Linked DNA regions of Homo sapiens: region 2 is linked to region 1. Evidence: promoter capture Hi-C in human tissues and cell types (Jung and others, 2019). All regions are on one chromosome and are shown on one strand. The core of a region is centred on a gene start or on the middle of the fragment in contact, and the rest is flanking DNA. Distances in the headings are between cores, read along the strand shown.

What was found. Contacts are between HindIII fragments. The study calls those that stand out against the background at their distance.
Region 2: a fragment that was not itself captured here is called in contact with the fragment with the promoter of UBASH3B in region 1 in 1 of the 25 tissues and cell types used here (hippocampus).

The regions. Positions count from the first base shown.
Region 1 is chr11:122,654,353-122,657,910 of GRCh38, reverse strand. UBASH3B (ubiquitin associated and SH3 domain containing B) reads right to left here and starts at 2,189. Exons shown (of 14, transcript NM_032873.5): 1 at 1,701-2,189. The coding sequence starts at 1,861. RefSeq lists a silencer at 1,530-1,579 and an enhancer at 1,783-2,284. The HindIII fragment of the contact is 12,544 bases long and covers 1-3,558 here.
Region 2 is chr11:121,677,826-121,681,513 of GRCh38, reverse strand. No RefSeq gene overlaps it. Among named protein-coding and RNA genes, the nearest start is that of SORL1-AS1, 230 kb to the right of the region's middle. The HindIII fragment of the contact is 7,595 bases long and covers 1-3,688 here.

The DNA of each region.
Region 1 (3,558 bases), core at 940-3,439:
CCCACCTCCAGTTTTTAAGGAGAGCTGTGCACATTGATCATCCACACCGACGACTTCACCTGAAGCGTCCACACCTGACACACCCCTGCAGAACCCACATTTTCTCCCTGTAATTCTGGTATCAGGAACTGGAGCCCTAGTATTAGGAAGTCGTATTGGGACGTCAGTGGAAGGCAGAAACCATCAGTCCATTTTGCAGCCTTCTAAGGCCACTCCAACGTGTCCCAGCAGCCTGGAGAATAACAAATTCAAGGGTCTACTTTGATTAACAGATTACAACCAAGTTAGTAGAGAATAAACAAGGTTTGCCCAGAGATAAGGGAGGGGAGACATAAAGTTATTGCCTGTAATCCCAGCACTTTGGGAGACCGAGGTGGGTGGATCACCTGAGGTCAGGAGTTCGAGACCAGCCTGGCCAACATGGCAGAACCCCATCTCTTCTAAAAATATAAAAATTAGCCCGGTGTGGTGGCGCATGTCTATGGTCCCAGCTACTCAGGAGGCTAAGGTGGGAGAATCGCTTGAACCTGGGAGGCGGAAGTTACAGAGATTGCGCCACTGCACTCTAGCCTGGCGACACAGCGAGACTCCGTCTCAGAAAAATAAATACATAAATAAAGTTATCACCTGAAAAAAAAATGTGAGAAGGGAAAAAAATAAAAAGGACTTTCATTTACTTGGCCCTCACTGATTAAGTTTGGCCAACTCTCCTGTTCAGGTGCTGTAATTCAAAGATGAAAAGAAGCTGCGCCCAGTCCGGACGCCAGGCCTTGTGTCCCCACCTAAGAAATCTGCACGGCAGGGATTAACCAGGGGAGAAGGGCCTGGCCGCTGGGCCTTGGCTTCCTCTTAGGCAGAGTTCCAGCCCCTGAGACTTGAGCCGACCGGCCTGAGACGACTCCGGCCGCCGCCACCCTATGCTGGCAAACAGGCCTCTCCCCAGCAGGCTCCAGGGGCAGCCACCTGCGCTCTCCCTGCCCTCCCCTACCCCACTCTCCTAGAGGAAGGATGAAGAACAGCTCCCCCTCCTTACTCTCAGGCACCCACAGATTTCTGAGCTGCCGTCACCACTGACGAGAACCCAGGTCCCCTGGAGGGATCGCTTCTCCTTCTGATTCCATCCTCCCCATCAATGAACACGCAGGAACACCCACGCTCCCGCTCCTCCTACTCCAGGGGGAGACCGAACCCGAGAGCGACATCCGGAGCTGGAAGCCGCTGCAACGGGGGCGCCGGCCTCCCTGCCCCGCAGTCTCCCGCCCTTTCCCAGACACCGGAGGATCCCAGACCAGCCCAGTATTCCAGACGGAGAGGGTGCCCGAGTCCTCCGCAGGGCCCCGCCTCCCTAGGCGCTCGGCGCTGGAGACCTAGGGGAGCGCGCGAGAGAAACGCTGAGCTCCACCCGGCTGGGGCGGAGGCTGAGCACTATACCCGGGACTCGAACCCCGCGCCCTCGTCCCCCAGCTTTAGGCATCCCACGGCGAGCCCTGGCCCAACGCCCCCGCGCCGCGTCTTCCCCCGCACCCCCGCCCGGAGCCGAGTCCCGGGTTGCCAGCGCGCCCATCCCGCCCCCAACAGGTCTCGGGCAGCGGGGAGCGCGCTGCCTGTCCCGCAGGCGCTGGGAGGCGAGCCGGAGCGAAGCCGAGGGCCGGCCGCGCGCGCGGGAGGGGTCGCCGAGGGCTGCGAGCCCGGCCACTTACGCGCGGGCTCTGGGGAACCCCATGGAGAGGAGCACGTCCAGCGCCGATCCATGCTTGATGGTGCCGGGGCGCTGTTGGCGGTTCCTCCGGGGGGTGACTTTGCTGTACAGCTCCTCTCTCGCAGCCATGCCGAGCGGACTGGGGTGGCCGTACTGAGCCATGGCTCAGCGGCCAGCCATCGCCAGGGAAGGAGCCCGAGCCGGATGGTTCGGGAAGGAGGAGGGAGTCGGGCTGGGCCAGGGGAGGGGGCTCGGGGACCCAGAGCCAGGCAGGAGGCGGCGGCAGCGGAGGCGGCGCTCCGAGCTTCCCCAGTGTCGGGACTCTGACGCTTCCTGGTGAGGCCACAGGAGCCAGAACGCCGGCAAGCGGCCGCTGCGGGACCAGCCTCAGCCACTCGGGCCCCCGGCTGCCCCCAGCTCTGCGCCTGCAGTAGCCCTGTCTCCTCCGCCCCCTTCCCTCTCCTCGCCTAGCAGTCCGGGAATTTGCAATGAGTAATTTTTGAATGGATCAAAAAGGAAAAGGAGCCTTGTGGGCTGGCCCTGACTTGCCTGTACCCGGGCCCCGCCCCTCTCTTAAAGCGGCCGCGCTGTCCGAGGCTGCTCCGTGCGGGCAAGAGCTGTAGTCGCGCTACTTGGAGACGGAGGATCCCAACCTTATGGGCTGCTTGTGTGCTTCACCTCCCGAGAGTCACCCCCGGCGCCCCAGCCCTCTCCTTGGCTGGCATACCCGCCCAGCTGGGCCTCAAGACAGGAGATCAACCCATCTCAAGTTTCATGTGATTCTAGATGCGGTTATTAATGGAAATTGGGTGAACTGGTGGATGATACTAATGGACCAGAAGGCCAAGCCGTAAGGCCTAGGTAAAAGGTTTTGCTTCTCAAAGATCCTGCAAAACCCAAAGGGTTGTTAGGACCATCGGAAGTTGAGTTCCCAATCAGCCGGCCAAGTGGCTGCACTAAAGACCTACTGCGCTCTACAAGGTTATGGTCAGTGACTGAATAGTGCCTTCCCGGTGGGGCAGAGGGGTTGGGGAGAAGGACCTCAGGTTCTCAGAGGTGGCAGGACCTGGGAGGGGACAAGAAAAGAGGGACAGGGCAGAAAGAAGAGGGAAGGGAAAAAGAAAGGAGGAAGGAGGAGGAGAAGAAGGAAGGGCTAGGAGGGTAGAGGAAGAAGGAACAGAGAAAACATACTTCCTAATTATAAGAGGTGTTCAAAAGGGAACGGGCTTATTTCATTAGGGAGTGGATATCCTGTCAATAAAAGGATTCAAAGACGGACCGAATCACCACTGCACAATAATAAGTGAATTGTATCATAGGCTGGACAAAACTACTCCCACTGCAAAGATGGTGGAAGCCACAACCATATTGATGCCCCATGCCCCACCTGGTGAATTTGGCTGGGGGATGCTAACCCTCTTTCGTTTGGAAACAAAGTCATTGTCTTCAGTCAGGGACAAGGGTCCCACTTGCTATAATGAAAGAGGCAATGAGTACACCCTAACTGATAGTCTTTTTTGGGTAATAATAATAATAAAACCTAACATTTATTGGGCTCTTGTATGTGCCAGTCATTGTGCTAATCGTAATGAATGAACTCACTGAAGTTTTATACTGACCCTAGGAGTGTGTTTAATCATTATCCCAGTTTTACAGATGAGAAAACTCAGCTCAGAGAGGTTGGGGAAGATCATAGAGCTGGTAAGTGCGTAGCTACAGCACTCGTATCCACTGCGGTGCCTTAGACAAGTTACTTCTCTCTACAGCCTAATTTCCTCATTGGTATGGACCGTGGTAACCTAACCTTGCACACACTGGGTTTTCCAGAAATGTCAGTCCGGGCCTGTCCCTGGTTGGAA
Region 2 (3,688 bases), core at 707-3,206, 980 kb after region 1:
TATCTATGAACTTTAAACATACATTCTCATTACTAGTCCCTTATGTAGTAAAATGTGTTTCCTTCCTTTCAACCCTCTCAACATCCATGTGATGTTGCTACAAAACATCCCCATATTGCATTTGAACTAATAAGTTCTGCAGCTTCATGCTTCTTTTGCTGTTTTTCATATTATTCCATTTGCCTGGAATGCCCTAAGAATAGAAAGAGATTAAATGAATCAGTAAAACATACTCAATGTACACTGAACAGATCAGCCTGGCCAACATGGTGAAACCCCATCTCTACTAAAACTACAAAAAACTAGCCAGACGTGGTGGTGCACATTTGTAATCCCAGCTACTCGGAGGCTGAGGCTGGAGAATTGCTTGAACCTGGGAGGTGGAGGTTGCAGTGAGCCGGGATTGCGTCACTGCACTCCACACCGGGCAACAGAGTGAGACTCCGTCTCAAAAAAAAAAAAAAAAAAAAAAAAAGGACGCTGAAGGACCCCATATTTGTTCATATTCGGCATTCCTTGGGTACTTCAAATGATATTTAGAAACAAAAAAAGAGTTCAGTTTTTTGGTTAAAAGAAAATTCTGAGAAATCACGAAGCTCAAGACAGGTGATGTTAAGGATAGCCCAGTGGTTCAACTGGTATTTTCTAATCAAACTTCTTTGATTCAAATTTCAGCTCCATCTCTTTCTGGTTATGTGGCCTGAAGCATGTTATTTTATATCTCGAATTCTCAATTTCTTCAACTATTAAGTGAGGATAATAGAAGAACTCATATTATTGTAATGATTCAAAACTCACAGTATTATGATGACTCAAAAAGATAAGGTATATAAAACATGTAGCCTGCTTCCAGGCACACAGTAAGCACTTCATAAGCAAATAAATGTTATTTATAAATATTATGCCAAAGACCAAAAACAGATAAATATTTTCATATTTCTAAAAAGCATATTCCAAAACCTGCTTAATGGTAAACATTACATTCTCTGGAAAAATCCTTAAAACGTCATTAAATGTCTGACTTACGAAGAGAAAGAGATGTGATCCCTATAGGCCAGCATGGGTTCATTATGAATAAGTCAAATCCACTAATCTTATTTCTGTTTGAAAAGGCTTATCAGACAAGTGAATTAATGTGATCATACAGAGGTCATATATATTTTTTGTTGGTTTTGTACTCTTCTGGTGATTTCTTTAAAGAAATACAGACAAAATGAAAATTCTGTTATGTAAGCTGATTAAACCTGTATCAATGGCCATGATGGAGTAACTGGTACCAGGTTTGCCCTCCTATAGTAAATAACTTAAAAACTGGACAAAAAAAAACAATTATTTTCAAACATTAGAAAATAGGCAATGCTGGACTGCGATCTCTGAGAAAAGAGATGCAAACTAGATGAGCTATAGAAGAGGATGGGCATTCTGTCTGGAAGCATTTTCAAGGCCACAGCAGACAGGAAAGGAGCCCAAGCAAAGCACAGCATTCTTGCTGAATTGAGGAGGCAGAAATCAGAGTTTGAGCAGGCAGGGGCAGCTGGAATTTATGAAATAGAATACAACAGAGCAGGAATTCTACACAGGAAAAGAGCTCCAGAAATTTGCATTGAGTCTTTTATTAAGTATTAAGCTGCATATTTTCAGACAGAAGCTCTATGAGGCCAGGAAAACAACAAATATTGGGGAGTGGTAAACTAAACAATTTCCAGAGCTCACATGGGCTGGAAGATAGTTAAGCTCCAGCCAGCCAGCATGAAGAGAGTTCATAGAACCTCAGGGCATTTAGCAGAGACTACAGAAGAACCACACCTTAGCAGTAATAAGATAAAACTACCGTGAGGGTAAAGACTATTCTAGACCCAAGTTTTAAAAATTTTTACACAAATCTCAACACAGTCAGTGTGATCCACAAGTAACTTAATAGTCTGCCAAAACAAAATTCACCGGTCTTTAAAGGAAAACAACAAAATCCAAGACACTCAACAATGTAGCTTTCACAATGTACAACACCCAATGGACACCCTACACCAGAAATGGTTAGATATGGAACCCATAGTCAGTTTAAAAAAAAAAAAAAACAGGCAATAAGAACAGTGACAGAACAGATAGAAATTATGAAAGTAGCAGACAACAACTTTTAAATGGCTAATATAAACAAGTTTAATGATTTAAGAGAGAATATAAAAGTATAAATTAAAAATATGAAAAAAAATCAAAATGGAACTTCCAGAGCTGAAAAATATTATATCTGAAATAAAAAATTTACTAAATAGACTTACCTAAAGCAGACTAGACATTGCAGTAAAAAAGACCAGTTCTGTTTTAAGAACTTGCCTGAAGTTCTTTTAGGCAAGGCAATAGAAATTATCCAAATTGAAGCAGAGGAAAGAAAAAAAGAATTAGAAAAAAAATGAACATAACATCAGTGACTTTCAAGACAAGAGGAAGCAGTCTAGCATGTGTGTAATTTGAGTCCTAGAAGGACAAACATAAAATATTATTTAAATAAATAATGGTTACAAATTTACCAAATTTGATGAAAATTATAAATCCAGAGATCCAAGACACTCGACAAAGAGCATGTAGAATAAAAATAATTGGACACACCAGAGTGAAACTGTATAAATCAAAGATAAAGAGAAAATTGCAAAAGCACTTAGAGAAAAAATATATACAAAGAAGCAAAATAATACTGACTGCAGACTTTCCAAAAAAAAAAAGTAAGCCTGAAGGAAATTGAATGACACTTTTAAAGTGCTGAAAGAAAATGGTCAATCCAGAATTCTATATCCATTGAAAATCTGTCTCAAAAATGGAGGCAAAATAAAGACATTTTTTTAAAACAAAAGCTAAAAGAATCTGTCATCAGCCTATCTGCATACAAAAATATTAAAGAAGTTTAGGCTGAAGGAAAATGACATCAAATGGAAACTGCGATCTACACAAAGAAATGAAGAGCATCAAAATGGTAAGTGTATGAATATAAAATATATTTAAGTGAATTTAATTAAAGACATTCTTTTCAAAAATGTAAAACTTTCCCAAAAAGCAAACTCCCACCTCAGATGGTTTCCGTAGTCAGTTAGTTGAAACTTACAAGGAAAAAATAATACTTTTTTCACAGAATATTTTTTAGAAAACAAAAAAGGGGAAACATTTGCCAACTCATTTTATAGGACAGTAATAATGTGATACCCAAACCAAATAATAAAATTACAAGAAAAAAATTCAAACTAATATCCTTCATAAATATAAACACAAAAGTGTTAGCAAAATATTCGCTAATTAAATTCAGCAATGTATAAAAATCATAATGCATCATAACCAAACAGGATTTATACCAAGAATGTAATACTGATTTAACATTTGAAAATCAGCCACTGAAATTTGCCATAAAATTTTGCCACAAAATAAAGGAGAAAATTACATGATCATCTCTATAGATGCAGAAAAAGCACTTGACAAAATTCAACATTCATTCATGATAAAAACTCTCAGTAAACTGAGACTAGAAGCAAACTTTCTTCAACCTGGTAAAGGATGTCTATGAAAACCTACAGTTAACATCATACTTAATGCTGAACACTAAACTCTTTCCCCCTAAGGTTTGTAACAAGGCAAAAATATAAGCTCTCACTACTTTTAGTCAACTTTGTACTGGAGGTTCCAGCCAGCGAAATGAGAAAAGAAA